Regions from separate parts of the Homo sapiens genome. Here regions 2, 3, 4 and 5 are each linked to region 1. The links are contacts of gene promoters, found by promoter capture Hi-C in blood cells and fetal thymus (Javierre and others, 2016). All regions are on one chromosome and are shown on one strand. The core of a region is centred on a gene start or on the middle of the fragment in contact, and the rest is flanking DNA. Distances in the headings are between cores, read along the strand shown. Region 1 holds the start of CEP89 (centrosomal protein 89). Region 2 overlaps TDRD12 (tudor domain containing 12). Region 3 overlaps TDRD12 (tudor domain containing 12). Region 4 overlaps TDRD12 (tudor domain containing 12). Region 5 overlaps TDRD12 (tudor domain containing 12).

Region 1 (4,577 bases), core at 1,059-3,558:
TGCCTGGGGGGGCAGCCACAGCTGCACCTGGGAGCTCCCACCCCGCCAACTTGGAAGAGGCAGGGCTCCCACTTGTCCCTGGCTCCTGCCTGCGCGGCTGCAGCTGCATCTGGAAGGGCAAATTCTGCCTGTTCCCGGCTCCCCCAGGAGCAGAGAGGCTCGGATCCACAGCTGCAGTTTGGGTGGCTGTAGCCCTGCCCAAGAGGGTGGGGCTCCTGCCTGCTCCATAGAGCAGAAGGCCTGGGTCTGCAGCAGCGGTTTGCGGCTCCAGTCCCAACTCATGAGGGACGGGGCTTCCACCGGCTCCATGAAGTGTGCAGCCCTAGCCACACAGCGTGATGGCAGCAGCCACTGCCATCACAAGGACCCAAATTCATTTCTTGCTTCCCCTCCTCTTCCTGCGCAGAGTCCCTGTGCTTCAGCACTCAGCGTGGGCTTCCATTTCCCAAACAGCAAATAATTCATTCTTTTTTAGGCCTTGGTATTTGCTGTCTTCTGCACCCAGAATTCTTTCCTTACTCCCTGCCAGGCCCAGGCCAACTCTCCAGGCTGACGTCACTGCCCTTCTGGTACACACATCAACAGCAGTTCTTGTTTTACCATTGTGTACAGAATTATTTATGGGCTTGTCTATCCTACAGACCGTGTGGCCATAAGCTGTCAGTTGTGGGTATCAGCACACAGCAGGGACTCATTAATGTTTGGGGCTTTAAATAAAAACTCAAGCCAGATGCAGTGGCTCACACCTGTAATCCCAACACTCTGGAGGCCAAGGTGAGAGGATTGCTTGAGCCAAGGTTTAAGACCAGCCTGGGCAGCATACCCAGACCCCATCTCTACCAAAAAAAAAAAATTATGTTTTTTTGAGGCAGAGTCTAGCTTTGTCGCCCAGGCTGGAGTGCAGTGGCACAATCTTGGCTCACTGCAACCTCTGCCTCTCGGGTTTAAGCGATTATCCCACCTCAACCTCCCGTGTAGCTGGGATTACAGGTGCCCACCACCACGCCCGCTAATTTTTGTATTTTTAGTAGAGATGGGTTTTCACCATGTTGGCCAGGCTAATCTTGAACTCCTGACCTCAAATGATCCGCCTGCCTCAGCCTCCCAAAGTGCTGGATTACAGGTGAGAGCCACCTCACGTGGCCTCTACAAAATAATTTTTAAAATTAGCCAGGCATTGAGACTTGGCAGAGTGTGAGGCAAAAAATAAAATAAATAAAAAATACCTAGGTGTGGTGGTGCACACCTGTAGTCCCAGCTACTCAGGAGCCTGAGGCAGGAGGATCACTTGAACCCAAGAGGTTGAAGCCACAGTGAGCTATGATCATGCCACTGTACTCCAGCCTGGGCATCAGGACAAGACCCTGTCTCTAAAACTAAATTAAATAATAAATAAATATAAGAATCCCCTTGGCTGCTACGTGGAGAATGGACCTAGGGGAAGGGCGAGAGTGGAAGCAGAGAAACCAGTGAGGATCTGCCGCAGCAGTCCAGACAGATGCTGGAGGCCGGGGTGTGGGTGGAGATGGGAACAGCTGGCAGATGTATGTAGTGGGTATATCGGATGGGACTTGCTGATGGGGTGTACATGGTGGGTGGAGGAGGGAAAAATGAAGAATGGCTATATCCAGCAGTGCAGCAGGTGTACGTCGTCCAGGAGTTAACTCCGGGCACGGGGACGAATGCTACAGGGGAGGCAGGGTGCTCCTGTCCAACTGTGGCCGACCCTGGGGCAGAAGATTGTTAACGCCGGGCACAGTGGCTCACGCCTGTGATACCAACACTTTAGGAGGCTAAGGAGCTCAAGACCACCATAGGAACATAGCAAGATCCCTGTTTCCACAAAAATATTGAACAATTAGCCGGGAGTAGTGGCGCGCGCCTGTAGTCTCAGCTCCTCGGGAGGCTGGGGTGGGAAGATCGCTTGAGCCCAGGAGTTCGAGGATGCAGTGAGCTATGATCGCACCACTGCACTCTAGCCTGGGCGACAGAGCGAGACCCTGTTTCTTAAAAAAAAAAAAAAAAGTTTAGAACACGAAAAATCAAGGCTTCCTCAACTGAAAACCACTTTCTCTTGTGCCGCCCCCTTGACTGGATCTCAGGCCAAACCCCAACCCGCCCCAACACTTTACCCCTAATTCCCGGCCCCACAGAGCCCCACGCGCGGCGGGCGAGCATCTACTTACGAAATGACTCCTGCGGCCTCTCCGAAATCCCAGGAGCATCCTTGCAGCGCGAGGAGAATGGACCGGGGCCTGGACTCATCAGCAGATCTATCCACAGCCAGGGACCACTCCCTAAAGCCCGCCGCAGGCCCAGCCCTCACGCTTTCTCTTCGCAATGGACTTTGCAGCAACCACGTCGGCCATTGGCTCAGCTCGGCCCTCGACCAATCAGAGCTAAGGTTACTTCCACACCGGTCGTTCTTGGCAACCAGTGGGTACCGTTCAAATCCCCGCCAGGGCGGAAACGTCCGCCCTTATCCGTTCTCTTATTGGTCAGGTTAGACGTCCATTTCTGACGCCACAGCCTATCCGGCGCTGCGGGAGGCGGAGGGCGGGCTGGATGAAGGACTGGGCGAGCACCGAGGGCGTGAACCCGGAAGGTGGCGCGGCCACCAGTAACATGATCTCTAGACTGGGACGGTGGGGTTCCTGCCGGCTGTATTCGGGCCTTGGACTGGACTGAGAAGCTACGGTGCGGATCCAGCTGGGGTATCAGGGGCTAGGCACGTGATGAAAATGAAGGACGCGGACACCAGGACAGGAATCTCCTGGTTCTTAGAGAATTTATTTCGCCACAAATAATTGGCAAACGGGATCTCGCTGTATTGCTCAGGCTGGTCTCGAACTCCTGGGCACAAGCGATCCTCACGCCTCAGCCTTGCCCAATGTTGGGATTACAGACGTGAGCTACCATGCCCAGCCCAGGATTCTTTTAAAACTTAAATCTGATCGTGCCTCTGGCCTTATTGGAATCCAATGCCATTACCACCTCCACCACCACACATCCCGTCTCCAGCCACCCTGGCCTTCATTCAGGCCTTTGTGTTTTCTTTTTCTTTTCTTTTTTTTTTTTTTTTTTGAGACGAGTCTTGCTCTGTCGCCCAGGCTGGAGTGCAGTGGCGCGATCTCGGCTCACTGCAACCTCCGCCTTCCGGATTCAAGCAATTCTCTGCCTCAGCCTCCCAAGTGGCTGGGATTACAGGTGCCCACCACCAAGCCCGGCTAATTTTTTTGTATTTTTAGTAGAGACGCGGTTTCACTATCTTGGCCAGGCTGGTCTTGAACTCCTGACCTTGTGATCCACCCGCCTCGCTCGGCCTCCCAAAGTGCTGGGATTACAGGTGTGAGCCACCGCGCCCAGCCTGTGTTTTCTTATTAGTAATTATAAAGGGAATCTTATTTGACAGTTCTTTGACAAATAATTCAGTTTGCAGAGGGGATCCTGCCCCAGAGGCCCTGGCTTGGAGTGGAATGCAGGGCCGTGTGCAGGAGAGCCTGCTCAAGTGCCGCCTGGCTTTTCCCTCCTTAGGTGGAGACCATCCATGGAAAAGAACCCCCCTGATGATACGGGCCCCGTGCACGTGCCTTTGGGGCATATTGTGGCCAATGAGAAATGGCGCGGGTCACAGCTGGCGCAGGAGATGCAAGGTCGGTGGCCTGCCCTCTGCCAGCCCTTTCCTCCCCTGACATATTAAAAAAAAAAAATCTGCCTATTATTGCCATCTTTTCATCCAAAGCTTATGGAACTCATTTTCTTCTCTGTATTTTAAGGGAAAATTAAGCTCATTTTCGAGGATGGCTTGACACCAGACTTTTATCTGTCGAACAGATGCTGCATTCTTTATGTCACCGAAGCTGATTTGGTGGCAGGAAATGGCTACAGAAAGAGGCTTGTTCGGGTTAGAAATGTAAGTATTAGGCTGGGTGCTGTGGCTCACGCCAGTAATCCCAGCACTTTGGGAGGCCAAGGCGGGTGGATCACCTGAGGTCAGTAGTTGGAGACCAGCCTGGCCAACATGGTGAAACCCTGTCTCTGCTAAAAATACAAAAATTAGCTGAGTATGGTGGCGCACGCCTGTAATCCCAGCTACTAGGGAGGCTGAGACGGGAGAATTGCTTGAGCCTGGGAGGCAGAGGCTGTAGTGAGCCGAGATCACGCCACTGCACTCCAGCCTGGGCGACAGAGTGAGATTCCAACTCAAAAAACAAAAAACAAAAACAAAAAAGAAATGTAAGCATTGGATTAAAGAAACTCGAACATTGATTTGTCTCACCCCACCCTTCCCTCCATCCCTTGGTATCATTTATTTAAAATCATTGGCCAGGTCAGGCACGAAGTGATAGCATTCTTAACCTGAAAAGCAATTTGGTTGCAAAATGACTTACTGTCTTTTTTCCTTTCAAGTCCAATAATCTTAAAGGAATTGTAGTCGTTGAAAAAACCCGGATGAGTGAACAATACTTCCCAGCCCTACAGAAGTTTACTGTGCTGGACCTTGGAATGGTGCTGCTTCCAGTGGCCAGCCAGATGGAAGCATCCTGCCTCGTCATCCAGTTGGTGAGTACCGATTC
Region 2 (4,577 bases), core at 1,263-3,762, 240 kb before region 1:
AATTGAGAGATGATGTTTTCAGTGATGCTGAGATTGACCAGAGGGGACATCCTGACCCTCCTTGTGGCCTTACCTGTCAGCATTCATGTGATGGCTTCTCCATTCAGTGACCACTGCTGCCTGAATCAGCTCTTTTATTCAGGCACTCGATGTGGGGTTTTCTCTCATTCCTTCTGCATTCATCAGCTGGAATTCTTCTGTTATAGAACTTTCCCTGATCTCTTAAGACTGTTTGATTACCCTGAAATAACACTGTTCCTTTTTTAAATTTTTTTAATTTATTTTTTTAATTAATTAATTTTTTTTTTTTTTGAGACAGAGTCTTGTTCTGTTGCCCAGGCTAGAGTACAGTGGCGCCATCTCTGCTCACTGGAAGCCCCACCTCCCGGGTTCACGCCGTTCTCCCGCCTTAGCCTCCCGAGTAGCTGGGACTACAGGCACCTGCCACCATGCCCGGCTAATTTCGTTTTTGTATTTTTAGTAGAGATGGGATTTCACCCTGGTAGCCAGGATGGTCTTGATCTCCTGACTTCATGATCCACCCGTCTCAGCCTCCCAAAGTGCTGGGATTACAGGCGTGAGCCACCGCGCCTGGCCTTTTTAAAAATTTTTTAAATCAGAAGGCCTATGAATGCAAATAATACAGTTCATACTGCAAAGAAAGAGAAATTGTGTGGATCAGTTTTCAACTTAGTGCTTTGTGCCTAGTTATCACATTTTTGGTGTCGAGAGGGTGGTTTTGTTTTTCTCTCCTCCTCCTCCTTTTCTTTTCTTTTCTTTTTTTTTTTTGAAGATGGGGGTCTCACTCTGTCACCCAGGCTGGAGTGCAGTGACTCTATCTCGGCTCACTGCAACCTCCGCCTTTTGGTATCGAGCAATCCTCCCACCTCAGCCTCCCAAGTGGCTAGGACTAAAGGCATGCACCACCACACCTGGCTAATTTTTTTGTATTTTTTGTGGTGACAGGGTTTCGCCATGTTGCCCAGGCTGGTCACGAACTCCTGGGCTCAAGAGATCTGCCCGCCTTGGCCTCCCAAAACGCTGGGATTACAGGCATGAATCACTGCGCCTGGCCCTTTACACTTTTAAGTACAAACAGACCTCATTTTATTGTGAATTCGCAGTAACTATGTTTTTTTACAAATTGAAGGTTTATGGCAACCCTTCATGGAGCAAGACTATAGGCACCATTTTTCCCACAGCAGGTCCTCACTTCATGTCTCTGTGTCACATCTTGGTAATTCTCCCAGTGTTTCGAACTTTTTTGTTATTATTCTATCTGTTATAGTGATCTGTGGCCAGTGATCTTTGAGGTTAGTATTTTAATTGTTTTGGGGTGCCACGAATTGCACCCATGTAAGATAGTGAATTTTATCAATAAATGTGTGTTCTGACTGCTCCACCATCTCTCTCCCTCTCCCCAGGCCTTCCTGTTCACTGACACACAATTGAAATTAGGCCAATTAATAACCCTACAATGGCCCCTAAGTGTTCAAGTGAAAGGATGAATCACATTAAATTAAAAGCTAGAAATGATTGAACTTAGAGGAAGACATTTTGAAAGCTGAGATAGGCTGAAAGCTAGGCCTCTTGCACCAAACAGTTAGCAAAGTTGTGAATGCAAAGGAAAAGTTCTTGAAGGAAATTAAAAGTGCCACTCTGGAGAACACACAAATGAAAAAAAAAATGAAAAAAGAAGCAGCCTTATTGGTAATATGGAGAAAGTTTTATTGGTCAGGATAGAGGCTTAGAACCAGTTACTACATTCCCTTCAGCCAAAGCCTGATCCAGAGCAAGGCCCTAACTCTCTTCAATTGTATAAAGGCTGAGCAAGGTTAGGAAGCTGCAGGGAAAAAATGTGAAGCTAGCGGAGGTTGGTTCATGAGGTTTAAGAAAAGAGGCCATCTCCACAACATAAAGTGCAAGGTGAAGCACAAGGGCTGATGGAGAGGCTGCAGCAGTTTCTCCAGATGTAGCTATGATCATTGTTGAAAGTGGACACACTAAATAAGAGGTTTTCAATGTATACAAGACAGCCTTCTATTGGAGAAGATGTCTTCTAGGACTTCCAGAGCTAAATAGGAGAAGTCAGCCAGGTGTGGTGGCTCACACCTGTAATCCCAGCACTCTGGGAGGCTGAGGTGGGTGGATCACCTAAGGTCAGGAGTTCGAGACCAGCCTGGCCAACATGGTGAAACCCTGTCTCTACTAAAAATACAAAAATTAGCCAGGTGTGGTGGCGGACACCTGTAATCCCAGCTACTGGGGAGGCTGAGGCAGGAGAATTGCTTGAACCCGGGAGGTGGAGGCTGCAGTGAGCTGAGATGGCACCACTGCACTCCAGCCTGGGTGACAGAGAGAGACTCCATCTTAAAAAATAAATAGGAGAAGTCGGTGTCTTTAAAGGACTAAAGCTTTAAAGGTCAGAGTGGCTTTCTTTTTAGGGGCTAATGCAGCTGGTGACTTTTAAGTTGAAGCCAGTACTCATTTACCATTCCAAAAGTCCTGTGACCCTTAAAGATTATGCTAGCTCTACTCTATCTGCTCTACGAATGGAACAAGAAAGCCTGAATGACAGCACATCTGTTCACGCATGGCTTACTGAATATTTTAAGCTTACTGTTGAGATCTATGCTCAGAAAAAAAGATTCCTTTCAAAATATTACTGCTGAGCTGGGTATGGTGGCACGTGTCCACAGTCCCAGCTACTTGGGAGGCTGAAGCAGGAAGATCACTTGGGCCCAGGAGTTTGAGTCCAGCCTAGGCAATGTAGTGATGAGACCCTGTCTCTAAAACAAAAAACAACAAACAATTAGTGCTCATTGACAGTGCACCTGGTCACTGAAGAGCTCTCATGGAGATATATGAGATGAATGTGGCTTTCATGCCTCATTTTGAAGGTTGGCTGGCTGTGTGAATTATTAACTATTCATGGTATTTCTACAAGATGCTTTGACTTCAGCATTAAATAGAAATACCCTTCATCCTTTGTCAGGATTTCTGTTGAATTATTCGAGTTTTGAGTTATGTGAGGTTCTCTAGAACCTGTGCCTTGCAGTATGGCTGTACTGTATTTTCCAACTTATTCCCAAGGACAGCAATCTCTATCAGTCCCCTTCCTTTCTGTCTGAGCGCAGCTCTCCTGCTGGACTGCTTTATAAACCTGTGGTTAGCATACGGTTTATTAGTTGAGTTGGCTGTGGCCTGGCAGTCCTGTGGTACAGTCAGGATGCCAAGGGTTGTCACCTCTGCAGGGTGGTTCTCCTTAAAAGGGGCTGCAGGCATTTACAGATGCTTCTTAACTTACGATGAGGTTATGTCCTGATAATTGTAGGTAAAAAATGGGCTTAGTACACCTAACCTGCTGACCAGCCTAGCTTACCCTAGCCTACTTAAATTTGCTCAGGACACTTAACATTAGCTTATGGTTGGGCAAGATCACCTAATACAAAGCCTATTTTGTAGTAAAGTTTAAATATTTATGTATTTTATTGAATACTGCACATTATGTAAAAATTGCAATAGTTTCACACCATCATAATGTTGAAAATTGTAAGTTAAACCATCATAAGTCAGGGACTGTGCACTTATTCAGCCATCAAACAGGCAGTTTATTGATTGATTGAGACAAACTCTCATTCTGTCGCCCAGGCTGGAGTGTAGTGGCGCGATCTTTGGCTCACTGCAACCTCTGCCTCCCTGGCTCAAGTGATCCTCCTGCCTCAGCCTCCTGAGTAGCTGGGACTACAGGCACATGCCACCATCCCTGGCTGATTTTTGTGTTTTTAGTAGAGACGGGGTTTTTCCATGTTGGTCAGGCTGCTCTTGAACTCCTGAGCTCAGGTGATCCACTCACCTCGACCTCCCAAAGTGCTGGGACCACAGGCGTGAACCACCATGCCTGGCCCAGGTAGTTTATTTTTAAAACATTTTATTACTGTTATTTTTTTGAGACAGGGTCTCACTGTGTCACCCAGGCTGGAGTGCAGTGGTGCAATCATAGCCCACTGCAGCCTCCAATTCCTGGGTTCAAGCGATCCTCCCACCTCAGCCTCCTAAGTAGGTGAGACTACAGGCACGTACCACCATGCCTGGTTCAAGTAGTTTTTGAAGACTTAGTATATGCCAGGCACTGCTAGGTGCTGGGAATTTGGCAGTAAACAAAACAGACAAAAATCCATGTCATCAAGGAGCCAGCGTCCAGTTATGACAGATAGTAAACAAATGTCAGAGGCCAATAAGAGTCATGGGGAGGCTGGGTGCGGTGGCTCACGCCTGTAATCCCAGCAGTTTGGGAGGCCGAGGCGGGTGGATCACCTGAGGTCAGGAGTTCGAGGCCATCCTGACCAATATGATGAAATCCTGTCTCTACTAAAAAAATTTCTTAAAATTATCTGGGCCTGGTGGCATGCGCCTGTAATCCCAGCTACTTGGGAGGCTGAGACAGGAGAATCGCTTGAGCCCGGGAGGTGGAGGTTGCAGTGAGCCAAGGTCGCACCATCGCACTCCAGCCTGGGCAACAAGAGCAAAACTCCGTCTCAAAAAAAATAAAGAGTCATGGGTAAGGGAGTGGAAGG
Region 3 (4,577 bases), core at 881-3,380, 210 kb before region 1:
TGCACATGCCTGTAGTCCCAGCTACTCGGGAGGCTGAGGCAGGAGAATTGCTTGAACTGGGAGGTGGAGGTTGCAGTGAGCCAAGATTATGTCATTGCACTCCAGCCTGGATGACAGAGTGAGACTCTGTCTCAGAAAACAAAATAAAATAAAATTGTAGGCTGGGCACGGTGGCTCATGCCTGTAATCCTAGCACTTTGGGAGACCGACACAGGTGGATCACCTGAGATCAGGAGTTTGAGACCAGCCTGGCCAACATGGTGAAACCCCGTCTCTACTAAAAATACAAAAATTAGCCAGGCATGGTGGCGTGTGCCTGTAGTCCCAGCTACTCAAGAACTTATTTGCTGCATGATGAAATGAGAAACTAGGATGTAAAAAGGAGGAGTGAACCCTGTAGACTCTTTTGCATTGAAGGTAAGGGTGGCAACACAGTGTAGAGAGAACAGGCTCGGGGCTAGAAGCCAGGAGACATGTGTTCTAATCCTGGGTCTACCACTGGCTTGGTGGGAGCCTCGACCTTCCAAGAGCCTGCAACTGCCCATATGTACACGGAGGGGAGGTAGGGGTAGACTAGAAGGCCCCTGGAGTTCTAGCATGTCTCAGTCTGGGAATTTTTTTTTTTTTTGAGACGGGGTCTTGCTCGGTTGCCCAGGCTTGATTGCAGTAGTGTGATCACAGCTCACTGCAGCCTCAACCTCCTGGCCTCAAAGGAGGCTGCGGCAGGAGAATCACTTGAACCCAGGAGGCAGAGGTTTCAGTGAACCAAGATTGTGCCACTGCACTCCAGCCTGGGCGAGTGAGACTCCGGCTGAAAAATAAACACAATAAAATAAAATATTATAGAGCCTTTCTTTCCAAAGTTTTCCAGACGGTATTTATAAAATTTTTATTTCACAGAAATGGGGTCCTACTATACATACCTCTTTGTAATGTATTTTACTTAGTATATGGCTGAATTCCCTTTCTAGGTCAAATATATCCGGTATAATGTGTTTAAGGACATAAACTCTGATGTGAGACTGCCAGGGTGTCAGGCCGCTTCCTTCTCTGGGACATGGGATGTCATCCCCATCCCCCTGGGAGTTACTGAATGGGCCATCGTGCAGCGTGCTTGGCTCAGCGCCTGGCCTGTGGCAGCCTCAGCGCATGTGGCCCCTGCCCCAGATTCTGATATGCCTCTTGTAGGGGGTCCCCAGGTGAGAATTACAGCAGAAGGTAGCACCTGTTGTTGATGGGCATGTATTCTTTCCATTTATATTCTTTTTCCATTGGAGGAATAAAAATACCAGGCACTACATCATCGTGTTTAATTATTGCGTGGCTTTCCATTGCTTGATATGTCAAAATTATTTTCAGGAGTCCCAGCTTGCTGGGCAGAAATTGTTTCCTGCTTATTACAATCAGTACTGGAATGAACTATGCTTATCTTTGAAAAGGAAAAGGTTATGGTGAACAATAACAAAAAAGATAATGTGAGGTGTAACTGAATTGGCATGTAAAAAGCAGAATTATTAGATGTTACTTTTCTAAGTATAGATTTCCCTTTCCTTTAATTATTGTGAGAAGGTACTTCAGTTATATTTCAGTTAGTTTTTGGTGTTTCTCTTTGAAGTTGCCTAATATTTTTGAGAATCAAAGTATAATACTTGGCTAATACTTGATTTGCTAATACTTGATTAAACAATCACATATTACAGAAGGGCTACAGTGAAAAATAATTTTTTTATTTGCAACCTCTTCTTACCCCAGGATGTCCCCTAGAGATAAACTCACTTTTTAAAGTTGTTTATTTTGGTATTATCTCCAGATTTTAAAATAATTGTGTATATTTTACTATTACTAGGCTTCTTCACTTTAGACATTGTCTTGATTTCTAGGGAGATTCACTCTCGTGCCCCTAACCCACATTCATTCATTCATCAGATATTTATGACGCCCTCACTGTCAGGTGCTTTTCTAGGGATTCTTAGGAGGGAAACAAAGTCTGTGCTTCCATAGAGTTTACATCCATCTTCTCAATAAATTTTTTATTTTACAATAATCACAAACTTACAGAAAAGTTGGAGAGTATTACAAAGAACTTTTTTCCCAAACCATTTGAGAATAAGTTGCTAACCTGATTCCCCAATACTTGAGTTTTTCCTAGAAAGAAGGACATTCTCAAAAATATCCACAATGCAATCATCAGAGTGTGAAGATTAACACTGATATATTGTGATCATATAACTCCCAGGCACCATTCAGGTTTTGCTGGTTATCAAAGAGACGTCGTTCAGCATCACTTGTTGCATTTAGAGAAGACGTTTCTTGTTTTTGTTTTGTTTAGTTTTTGAGACGGAGTCTCACTCTGTCTCCCAGGCTGGAGTGCAGTGGCACATCTCAGCTCACTGCAAGCTCCACCTCCCAGGTTCACACTATTCTCCTGCCTCAGCCTCCCAAGTAGCTGGGACTACAGGCGCCCGCCACCAAGCCCAGCTAATTTTTTATTTTTTTATTTTTTGTATTTTTAGTAGAGACGGGGTTTCACCGTGTTAGCCAGGATGGTCTCGATCTCCTGACCTCGTGATCCGCCCGCCTCGGCCTCCCAAAGTGCTGGGATTACAGGCATGAGCTACTGCGCCTGGCCGAGAACACATTTCTTTAGTCTTTCCTCTGGAACATTTCCTGGGTCTCCTTGATTTTCATGACCTTGCACTTTGGAAGATTACAGACCTATTATTTTGTAGAATGTGTTCTGGATTTTGGTCATTCTAATAGGGGTGTAGTGGAATATCATTATTTTAATTTGCATTTCTCTAATGACGTAGGATGTGAGCATCTTTTCATATGCTTATTTGCTGTTGGTATATCTTCTCAGATGAGATATCTCTTCAGGAGTTCCTTATTTATTTATTTATTTATTTAGAGATGGAGTCTTGTGCTGTCACCTAGGCTGGAGTGCAGTGGTGTGATCTCAGCTCATGGCAACCTCTGCCTCCCAGGTTCAAGCCTCCTGCCTGAGCCCCGCGAGTAGCTGGGATTACAGGTGCCCGCCACCATGCCTGGCTAATTTTTGTATTTTTAGTAGAGACGGGGTTTCACCATGTTGGCCAGGCTGGTCTTGAACTCATGAGCTCAAGTGATCCACCCACCTCAAATGATCCGACTGCCTCGGCCTCCCAAAGTGCGGGGATTACAGGCATGAGCCACCCACCATGTCCGGCAAGGATTTGGCTATTTTAAATTGACTTTTTTGTCCTCTTAGTGTTGAGTTTTAGGAGTCCTTTGTACATTTTGGATAACAATCCTTTTTTTACATGTGTCCTTTGCAAACATTTCCTCCTAGTGTGTGGCTTGTCTCTCATTCTCTTGACAATATCTTTCACAGAGCAGAAATGTTTAGTTTTAATGAAGTCCAGCTGATCAGTTGCTTCTTTCATGGATTGTGCCTTTGGTGTTGTCTCTAAAAAGCCATTGCCATACTCAGGGTCATCTAGGTTTTCTCCTATGTTATTTTCTAGGAGTTTTGTATTTTGCATTTTTCATTTAGATCCATTTGAGTTGATTTTTGTGAAGGGTGTAAGGTCTGTGCCTAGAGTCACTTTTCTGCATGTGGATGTTGAGTTGTTCCAGCACCATTTGTTGAAAAGAGAAGGTTGGGAGTTTTATTAGAGAAATCTTACATATTGTTTTGAAAGGAAGCTCATTGACGCTAGAGAAGTTTTTGGGAGCTGGCAAGCTCTGATTGGTAGGTAATGGCGGTAGGAAAAACTAGTCTTAAAGTCATGGCAGGTTATTTCAGTAGCTACCAGGTAAAACTGGTGTTGGGATTCTAGCAGTGCACCTCAACAGCGGGGCCAAGAAGGTGCTCTGTGCCTCGAGTACTTTTCCTCTGGCCCCTCGACTCTGATTTAGTTGGAGATGAAAGAATGACCTAGTTTGTATAATTAACTTTCACAGGACCATTGGGTTTAAAGTGATTATTTATATACAGTCATGTGTTGCTTACTGATGGACTATGTTCTGAGAAACACGTCATTAGGTGATTTTGGTGTGCAAACATCATAGGGTGTACTTACCCAACCTACATGGTGCAGCCTACTACACATATAGGCAATATGGTATAGCCTATGGCTCCTAGGCCACAAACCTGTACAGTATGTTACTGTATTGAATGCTGTAGGCAGCTGTAACACAATGGTAACTATTTGTGTTATCTAAACCAATTTAAACGTAGAAAAGATAGTGATTATGCTATGATGTTGCTAGGCAATAGGAATTTTTCATCTTCATTAAAATCTTATGAGACCACCATCGTATATGTGGTCTATTGCTGATGGAAGGTTGGCATACGGCACGTGACTGGAGTTGGATTACTGTCTGCCATGTTTATTACTGTATTTGATTTATTGCCCTTGTTTTTTTGTTCCTCTTTTGACTTTGCTCTTTTTCTACCATTTGTGATTTTAATTGGGCATTTTGATACCATATAAATGGTAGGAGGGGTGGAGAGAGGGAAATAAATGTCTAGAGCCCTGTAATTAGAGTCAGTCTTCTAGGGAGCCTGTACCTTTGGGCTGCACGCTTCTCAGGTG
Region 4 (4,577 bases), core at 1,383-3,882, 190 kb before region 1:
AATCTTGCTATTCTGCAGATCAATGATTCTACTGATCTGTCTGTACATTCATTATCTTCTGTCATCCACATTCTGCTATTGAGCCCATCCTGTGAGTATTCTATTTATTATATCTATATTTTTTTGCGACAGGATCTTGCTCTGTTACTCAGGCTCTCAAGTGCAGTGGAGCAATCATAACTCACTATAGCCTTAAACTCCTGGGCTTAAGCGATCCTCCGGCCCCAGCCTCCCAAGTGGCTAGGACTGCAGGCATACACCACCACAGCTGGCTAACATTTTAATTTTTTTGCAGAGATGGAAGTCTCGCTATGTTGCCCTGGCTGGTCTCCAACTCCTGAGACCAAGTGATCCTCCCGCCTTGGCTTACCAAAATATTAGGATTACAGGTGTGAGCCACTGTGCCCGGCCTATATTTCTTGTTTCTAAAATTTTCCTTGTTTTTTTTTTTCAAAAGTTTATATTTCTTTGCTGAGAACTTGTGTGTTTCCACTTGGGAGTGCTGGCCTTTTCTTCTTGTGGAGTGAGTGTCCAGAGATTGCCACCCTGAGCCACCAGAGGTTGGCACCTGCTGATTGTCGTTTCCCTTGGCAGTCGATCTGGTTTTCCTGGGCCCGTGTGTGCTGAGTAACTTTGGACTCACTCTGGATATTTTGAATGTTATGTTGCGAGATTCTGGTTTCTGTTAACATTCTCTAGAGAGTGTTGGTTGGTGTCATTTGTCTTAGCAGGAGGTCGGTACCTCCATGAGGTCCGGCCCTCATGTTCTGCCTTGCGAACTGTGGGTGGCGGTGGCCGTGTGAGCTCAGGCTCTGGGCCCTCGATGCTGCCTGGGGCCTGTTCTGCATCTGCTTAGCTTGGGGCGAGTTGGGGCTTGTGTTGGGTCATGAACCACCTCTCTTTCTTTTCAGAATTTCCCTCACAGTTACCAATTTCTAGGGCCTCCTTCCCCGTATTCCTCTGGCCAGATAGTTTCTCTTGGAGACATTGGTGTGCAGTAATGTGGAATTGGGATACCTTGAGAATAAAACAAGTAAGGGAGAAAAAAGGTGGAGATTTTCCTCACGCAGTCTTTGGACCACAGCTCCCATCTCCCAGTTCCTCTGGCTTCAGGTGCAGGTTTTCTCTCAGGGTTTAAGGTCACCACACTGCTGTTGCTGTTGCTGGGTGCAGCCCCAAGATCAGAGCTGGCCTTGGGGCCCGGTGAGGAAAGAAAAGAAAAACAATGGGGATTCCCCACACTTTCTGGTTTAAAGGGCGCCTCTTCCCGCTTCTCTGGCTTGAAGGAAGAAGTCTCTCCTGGAGATTCTGGCGTCTGCACCTGCCACAAAGTCATCTTGAGGTCAACACAGAGACACAGAGAGAAAAAAGACAAGAAAGTCCTGGTGATTCTGTTTTTCAAGTGTTTGACTTCTCTCCCCTGCTGTTGGGGCCTCATCCAGAATCTCTAGTTGTGATCAGCAGGAGAGAGAGGCTGTGGCAGGCCTACTCCATCCTGTCCAGCACCACCACCAGAAGTGTCAGAAATGACTTTTATACTTAAAGGACTAAGCTCCAGTTCTCACAGAAATGTGCTTATGTAGATAAACCAATTCCTCAGTGGTGCTTCTTAAATTTTTAATCCAGAAAATAAAGATATTTTCAGGATTGGGGTAAAGGGGTTCACAATTTTTCATTTTTTTAAGAGACAGGGTCTTGCTCTTGTTGCCCAGGCTGGAGTGCGGTGGCACAATCACAGCTCACTGCAGTGTCCAACTCTTGAGCTTAGGCGATCCTCCCACCTTGGCCTCCCGAGTTGCTGGGACTATAGGTGCACACCACCATGCCCGGCATTTTTTATTTTTTTATTTTTGTCGAGATGGGGACTCACTGTGTTGCCCAGGCTGCTGTTCACAAATTTTAATGAATTTTTTTTTTTCATTTCTAGTGCTTTAAGTCAGAAGTCAAATGAGAAACCTCTTAGATTGACTGAGAAGAAAGAATATGATGAGAAGAATAGCTGTGTGAAGTAAGAATTTTTTCCTTGGCCTGAATTGTGTATTGAAATAATTATAATAAAATTATAAACAAGAGAAATCTACACATTTTATTATTAATTTCAAACCTGCATTCCCATCAAAAAATAAATGTACAGTATATCTCCTGTAGGGTTTGAGGTTAATTTTTGCTTTTCCATCCACTTGGGCACATTTTTCTGTTTAAAGCTTTGTTCCAGTGTAAGTAGTCATTTTCTACCTTGCCTTCTGGATTCTCTTGGTGAAGTGAACAGTGTCACAAATCAAATTAGATACAGTTGATCTTTTGGGGCTGTTGATGTTCTTTGGGTTGGTCTTTGCTTTCTTTCCAGTTCTCTGAGGCAACACTGCTAGAGAAACTGAGCAGTTTGCCTTGATTTCATACTTGTGTAATCTGTAAAATATTTACATAGCAATTTTCGTTTTGAGACAAGGTCTTCCTCTGTCATTTAGGCTGGAGTGCAGTGGTGCAGTCACAGCTCACTGCAGCTTCGACCTCCTAGGCTCAAGCGATCCTCCCACCTCAGCCTCCCAAGTAGCTGGGACCATAGGCATGCACCACCATAACTGATTTACATATATATATATATATATATATATATATATATATATATATATATATTTTTTTTTTTTTTTTTTTTTTTTTTTTTTTTTTGTAGGACGAGGGTCTCGCTATGTTACCCAGGCTGGTCTCAAAGTCCTGGCCTCAAATGATTCTCCTACCTCTGCCTTTCAGAGTGCTGGGATTGCAGGCATGACCACAGCTTCCAGCCTCATGCCATTTTTATACTTTTTACCATATTGGCCTCAACAGTTTTACATTCCAAGTAACTGTAGCTGCCCTGGAGCTCCCAGAGTGACAAAGTGTGAGACAGGTCAGAGGTGGGGAGGTCCTGCTGTTTCCACTGGTTGGCCTTGGGGGTTGGAGCCAGGGTGTGGACTCTGCAGCCATGTGGGCTTCCCAGCTTCCCAGAGGCCATGCTGATGACCTGCCAGGGCTTCTTACCCCACAGGACACCACCCAGGATTTCAAGGGTGAGGCTTTGAAAGCTTCCACGAGCCCACAGAGTTGGGGATGGCTGTTGATGCACCTAACTGACACCCCCCTCCCAGGGCAACCTCAGCCCTAATACCCAAAGGTTTTGCTGTCACAGTCGTTATTTTCCTTGGAACAGAAGGCCATACAGCTTATTTCTTTCTTTTATTATTTTCAATTATAACCTGGCAAATTAACCCTGGAATATTCTTTTTTTCATTATTTATTTATTTATTTTTTAATTGGAGACGGAATCTTGCTCTGTCACCCAGGATAGAGTGCAATGACATGATCTTGGCTCACTGCAACCTCCACCTCCTGGGTTCAAGCAATTCTCCTGCCTCAGCCTCCTGAGTAGCTGGAATTACAGGCGCCTGCCACCACGTCCAGCTAATTTTTGTATTTTTAGTAGAGATGGGGTTTTGCCATGTTGGCCAGGCTGGTCTCGAACTCATGACCTCAGGTGATCCGCCCACCTTGGCTTCCCAAAGTGCTAGGATTACAGGAGTGAGCCACTGTGCCCGGATGACCCTGGAACATTCTATTCCCTTTTATTTTCGTATTAAAAAGTTCTGTCTTGTCTCCTGTTCTGTTAAAATGCCCTTTACTTAGAACCCACTGATTAAACAACATCAGTTATCCTGTCAGTCTCCTGTGGGTTTCAGGGAACTTTGAGGTAATTCAGGATTAAACATCAAAGAAGGCTTTGAGTTCCTTAGGGACACAGGGATGACCTGGTGATCCTGGGACCCTCCCCCTTGACTGCGCAGAGGTCCAGCATTGGCTGCACTGCGTCCAAAGCCTGGGGAACCCTGTGCTGTCATTTCTGGCGAGATAGCCAAGGCAGCCTGGAGGAGAGGCACCCTTTCCTTAAGGATGGCCAGTCAGAGACCCGCATTGCCGCATCCCCAAACCTCACTTGGGACTATGATAACGACTGTCACAATGTGGGCAGAGGGGCACAGGGACCTTGGCTCATTGCCAGGGGCCAGGTGTCCCACTAGCCTCCTCTGTGTGACACCTGTGGTTTTCTTTTCCTGTCTTTTTGTCTCGCTGATGGAGTTGCTCAAGCCTGTAAGTACCAGTAAGCGGTTGTATTTCTTTCTCCTCGGGCCTGTTCCTTCATATAACTCATTTGGAAACCCCCAAGTTACAGTACATTCTGGAAGAGGTCACCCCAGATGCAGTCTTTCCCATTCCAGGATCACATACCACCAGGATCCCCTTGGGAATCCTGGATACTTGGGTAGCAGAGGAAGTGGCGGGGCCCACACCCAGGTTTAAGGGCTCTCCTAGTGAAATTCTCTCTCTTAATTTTTGGGTGTTCAAGAGAAACTGCTCTGTTTTGCTAAGGGCTTCTGGAGGTGGCAAGGCAGCCTGGATTGGGCTGAGATCGTGTTTCTAAGCTGGTGCCAGCTTCCGCCCAGCCCGTGGAAATATGCTAGGTGGTGGGTGAGTCTCAACTCTGTGTGTTGACCCTCGCAGCATTATTTTCAGGAGGCTTTTGGACTTTGACAATGCAGCCA
Region 5 (4,577 bases), core at 1,440-3,939, 180 kb before region 1:
GCTTGGTAGGCTGAGACATGAAAATCTCTTGAACCTGGGAGGCGGAGGTTGCAGTGAGCCAAGATCGTGCCACTGCACTCCAGCCTGGGCACAGAACGAGACTCTGTCTACAATAATAATAATAATAATAATAATAATTCTGATGAAAAGCTCTTTCCAACCAGAGGTCCTTACTCAAACTGTGGATGGAGCGTGAGGGTAGAGTGAAGACATTTGCAGACATACAGAGTCTTAAAAAAACGTACTTCCCTTCCAACCTTTGTCAAGAAGATATTAAAATATGTTCTCTACCAAAACAAAGAAGTAACCCGAGAAAGATGACCACATGGGTTTGCAGACAAAAGGTGATGGTGAAGGATGATACCAGGATAGTTGCTCAATACCAAGTGCAGAGCATGGCGGGTCCTGACTGCAGCTAGGGCTCAGGACTCGAGAGGACCTCACAGAGCTCATGGTGCCGATGAGCTCGGCCATTTGGAAGATCCTATCCATGTGGGTGGAGAACTCTATTGGAACATTTGGGTTTTAGTGACAGTTACATAGAAAAATAAGCAAATAAAAGTCTATCTTTTAAAAAGCTTTACAAGTGAAGCTGATGGACTGGCAGTTTATTAGGAGAATGAGGAGGAAAAGCCACATCTTTGATCCAGTGAACTTTAAGTTCCTGTCAATGGGCCATCTATTGGATCCTTTTAATTTAGAAAATTAAAGCAAGAATCTTTTTTTTTTTTTTTTTTGAGTCGGAGTTTTGCTCTTGTTGCCCAGGCTGGAGTGCAATGGCATGATCTCGGCTCACCACAACCTGTGCCTCCCGGGTTCAAGTCATTCTCCTGCCTCAGCCTCCTATGTAGCTAGGATTACAGGTGCCTGACACCACGCCCGGCTAATTTTCTATTTTTAGTAGAGACGGGGTTTCTGCATCTTGGTCAGGCTGGTCTTGAACTCCCGACCTCAGGTGATCTGCTCGCCTTGACCTCCTAAAGTGCAGGGATTACAGACATGAGCCACTGTGCCTGGCTTTTTTTTTTTTTTTTTTTTTTTTTTTTTTTGAGATGGAGTCTCGCTCTGTCACCCAGGCTGGAGTGCAGTGGCACAGTCTTGGCTTACCGCATCCTCTGCCTCCTGTGTTCAAGTGATTCTCCTGCCGCAGCCTCCAGAGTAGCTGGGATTATAGGCATGCACCACCACACCTGGCTAATTTTGTATTTTTGGTAGAGATGGGGTTTCACCATGTTGGCCAGGCTGGTCTCGGACTCCTGACCTCAGGTGATCCACCCACCTCGGCCTCCCAAAGTGCTGGGATTACAGGCATGAGCCACCGTGCCCTGCCTAGCAAGAATCTTTTAATGGGAGTCTTAATAGGAGAAAAAGCAACAGTCTTTTAATAGGAGGTTGGTACTGAGAAAAGATTTGGGGAAACTTAACAAGTTAGGGCTTGGAAAATACTGGGTTTGGCAATGTGTAGTGCTTTTTGGGGTGAAATGAGCCATGCAATGGAGTTTTTGTTAGTTTTCTCTACCTTATTTTGGTTTCTGGTTGTTTCTGTTTTGTAGGCTCTTCAAAGAAATAAGTTTCCGGGCCCCAGCCACACTGAATCTTACTCTTGGCCTCCCATAGCGCGTGGCTGTGATGTGGTTGTCATTTCTCACTGTGAAAGCAACCCTTTGCTCTACCTCCTACCAGTGTTGACAGTTTTGCAAACAGGAGCCTGCTACAAGTCATTACCAAGTAGAAATGGAGTAAGTCAAAGACAGTTTTGCCTCACAACCAAATGGGTTAAATATTTATTTTAAAATTATACACCTCACCTTTGAGGAAGGTCGTCTATTACTCAGTTTGGTTTTCAAACTTCCAGGCCAGAAACTGTCCTGTGGGAAAGTGTCCTTTCCCATTCCAATTACTGATGCTCTCATACTGATTCTCACCTGGAGCCTATAGTTGTGGGCCATTGGCTGAGGCTTTTAGAAATGGATATGGAGGCCAGGCACGGTGGCTCACGCCTGTAATCCCAGCACTTTGGGAGGCCGAGGCGAGTGGATCATCTGAGGTCAGGAGTTCGAGACCAGCCTGGCCAACATGGTGAAACCCTGTCTCTACTAAAAACAGAAAAATTAGGTGGGCATGGTGGCATGCCTGTAATCCCAGCTACTTGGGAGGCTGAGGCAGGAGAATCACTTGAACCTGGGAGGCGAAGGTTGCAGTGAGCCGAGATTATACCATTGTGTTCCAGCCTGGACAATAAGAGCAAAACTCCATCTCAGAAAAAAAAAAAAAAAAAGAAAGAAAAAGAAAAAATGGATATCGAGTGTGTAAAATGCTGTCACAGACCTGAGTCTATCTATCCATCACAGTAGCAGCATGAGATGGGCATTGTTCTGACCATTTCACGGAGGAGAAAATGAGGCTCAGGAAGAGTTACTGGGGTAAATTTCCCACTGACAGGGCTAGGAGTGGGGTTGAAGTCTGAGCTTCTGCTGCCTTGTCCCGTGCTCTGCCAGTCATTTCCTAGCTCCCCACCCTGCTTCATAATCCTTCTTAACTTTTCCCATGTGGGAAAACCTCAGAATAACTGTATTAAGTCTGTTCTAGCATTGCTATAAATACCTGAGGCTGGGTAATTTATAAAGAAGAGAGGCTTAACTGGCTCATGGTTCTGCAGGCTGGAGCGGAAGCATGATGCTGGCATCTGCTCGGCTTCTGCGGAAGCCTCAGGAAACTCACAATCATTGCAGAAGTCTAAGGGGGAGCAAGTGTGACACATGGCTGGAGCAGGAGCAGGAGCAGGGGAGGTGCCACATACCTTTAAACACTAGATCTCAGAAGAACAGCACCAAGAGGACAGTGCTAACCCATTCATGAGAAACTGCCCCCATGAGCCAATCACCCCCCACCAGCCCCCACCTCCAACACTGGGGATTACATTTAACATGAGATTTGGGTGGGGATGCAGAGCTAAACCATTTCACTGAGAAAGAGGTGGTGGGAAAGAGAGGAGCGGTGTGAAGGTAAATGATGCAGGGCATGGCCCTGTGCTGCTGGTTTGTGGCTGTTAGGGGCCTGATGGGTGTGGAACCTGCATCTCGGGGCCTGGCACTGAGGGTGCTCCAGACGGGGCTCCACCAGTGAAAAACAGCAGTAAGAAGACATAGGGTTGCAGTTAGGAAAAATACTAGCTCATTTTTCTAACCGTGCCATGCAGTTTTATGATTTCCCTTTAGAAAGTTGCATCTGTTGGCCGGGCGCAGTGGCTCATGCCTGTAATCCAGCACTTTGGGACGCCGAGGCAGGCGGATCACGAGATCGAGATCGAGACTATCCTGGCCAACATGGTGAAACCCTGTCTCTACTAAAAATACAAAAATTAGCTGGGCGTGGTGGCACACGCCTGTAGTTCCAGCTACTCGAGAGGCTGAGGCAGGAGAATCGCTTGAACCTGGGAGGCGGAGGTTGCGGTGAGGCAAGATCGCACCATTGCACTCCAGCCTGGGCAAGAAGAGCCAAACTCCATCTCAAAAAAAAAAAAAAGTTGCATCTGTTATTAGCAGCTGATTTAGTCAAATTAATGGATATGTTTCTATCTCCCAAATTACTTAGCAGCAGACTAATGAGAAGCAACTGATGAGAAGTCGCTTATATTGAGGCCGAACCCAGGCTCAGGGCAGAAGGGGATGTCCAGGTCTCGTCCCTGTGGCCCCCAGCTTTCTCCACGCCTCCATGGTCAGCCTGCTTTCAGGCCTGTGTCTGGAAGCTGGGCCCACCTGGATCTGTATGAATGAAAGAGGAGCCTCAGCTTGTCTTCAGTTACTGGAGGGTGTGTGTCTGGCAGGCAGTGCAGCTTCAGGAGTTACCTGTCGGCTTGCAGAGGGCAGGGTTCAGAAGATAGTGTCCTAAGGAAGAGAGGTTCGTCTTTTTTTTTTTTTTTTTGAGATGGAGTCTCGCTCTGTCACCCAGGCTGGAGTGCAGTGGCTCCATCTCGGCTCACTGCAACCTCTGCCTCCCGGGTTCAAGCAATTCTCCTGTCTCAGCCTCCTGAGTAGCTGGGACTACAGGCACACACTACCACGCCTGGCTAATTTTTGTATTTTTAGTAGAGATGGGGTTTCACCATATTGGTCAGGCTGGTCTCACACTCCTGACCTCGGGTGATCCACCTGACTCAGCCTCCCAAAGTGCTAGGATTACAGGCGTGAGCCACTACACCCAGCCAGGGTTCGTCTTTTTTAAGGCCCCTTTCAGGAGGCATTTAGTTCATTCTTGTGCTTAGGATCTGTGCAGGGGATGTGGAGCCAGACTGCCTGGGTTCAAGTCCTGTTGCTACCATGTATTAGCTGTGCAGCCTTGGGTAACTGACTTCACCTCTCTGTACCTCAAGTTCCTCACCTCTGAAGTGAAGCAGTGACAGCCTCTGCCCCATAAGAGCATCTTAAGAGCTAAATGAATGCATACGTGTGAAGTGCTTCATTGAGACTCAGCAAATATGACTCAATGTGTCTAAATCTGTTTTAATGAAATTATATCGTCACTTTTCTGACCTGTATGATGATTATAGCAGAAACTTACGGGGTGCTGCTTCTGTG

The links. Contacts are between HindIII fragments. The CHiCAGO score rates a contact against its expected background, and 5 or more counts as called.
Region 2: a contact is called between a fragment that was not itself captured here and the fragment with the promoter of CEP89 in region 1, in 1 of 17 cell types (naive CD8 T cells). The highest score is 6.7, in naive CD8 T cells.
Region 3: a contact is called between a fragment that was not itself captured here and the fragment with the promoter of CEP89 in region 1, in 1 of 17 cell types (naive CD4 T cells). The highest score is 5.0, in naive CD4 T cells.
Region 4: a fragment that was not itself captured here is called in contact with the fragment with the promoter of CEP89 in region 1 in 1 of 17 cell types (non-activated CD4 T cells); the score reaches 5.1 in non-activated CD4 T cells.
Region 5: a fragment that was not itself captured here is called in contact with the fragment with the promoter of CEP89 in region 1 in 1 of 17 cell types (naive CD4 T cells); the score reaches 5.1 in naive CD4 T cells.

What each region holds. Positions count from the first base shown.
Region 1 is chr19:32,969,650-32,974,226 of GRCh38, forward strand. CEP89 (centrosomal protein 89) reads right to left here and starts at 2,309. Exons shown (of 19, transcript NM_032816.5): 1 at 2,187-2,309. The coding sequence starts at 2,225. FAAP24 (FA core complex associated protein 24) reads left to right here and starts at 2,593. Exons shown (of 5, transcript NM_152266.5): 1 at 2,593-2,697; 2 at 3,535-3,653; 3 at 3,777-3,913; 4 at 4,411-4,563. The coding sequence starts at 3,548. RefSeq lists enhancers at 2,117-2,336, 2,717-2,766 and a silencer at 2,447-2,576. The HindIII fragment of the contact is 6,189 bases long and covers 1-3,740 here.
Region 2 is chr19:32,733,598-32,738,174 of GRCh38, forward strand. The region is part of intron 2 of TDRD12 (tudor domain containing 12); the gene reads left to right. Among named protein-coding and RNA genes, the nearest start is that of TDRD12, 16 kb to the left of the region's middle. The HindIII fragment of the contact is 201 bases long and covers 2,413-2,613 here.
Region 3 is chr19:32,758,801-32,763,377 of GRCh38, forward strand. All of the region lies in intron 8 of TDRD12 (tudor domain containing 12), which reads left to right. Among named protein-coding and RNA genes, the nearest start is that of TDRD12, 41 kb to the left of the region's middle. The HindIII fragment of the contact is 6,121 bases long and covers 1-4,577 here.
Region 4 is chr19:32,775,222-32,779,798 of GRCh38, forward strand. It overlaps TDRD12 (tudor domain containing 12), which reads left to right. Exons shown (of 33, transcript NM_001366102.1): 11 at 1,928-2,008. Among named protein-coding and RNA genes, the nearest start is that of TDRD12, 58 kb to the left of the region's middle. RefSeq lists enhancers at 2,325-2,374, 4,164-4,577. The HindIII fragment of the contact is 861 bases long and covers 2,203-3,063 here.
Region 5 is chr19:32,793,075-32,797,651 of GRCh38, forward strand. It overlaps TDRD12 (tudor domain containing 12), which reads left to right. Exons shown (of 33, transcript NM_001366102.1): 14 at 1,554-1,739. Among named protein-coding and RNA genes, the nearest start is that of SLC7A9, 74 kb to the right of the region's middle. The HindIII fragment of the contact is 4,226 bases long and covers 577-4,577 here.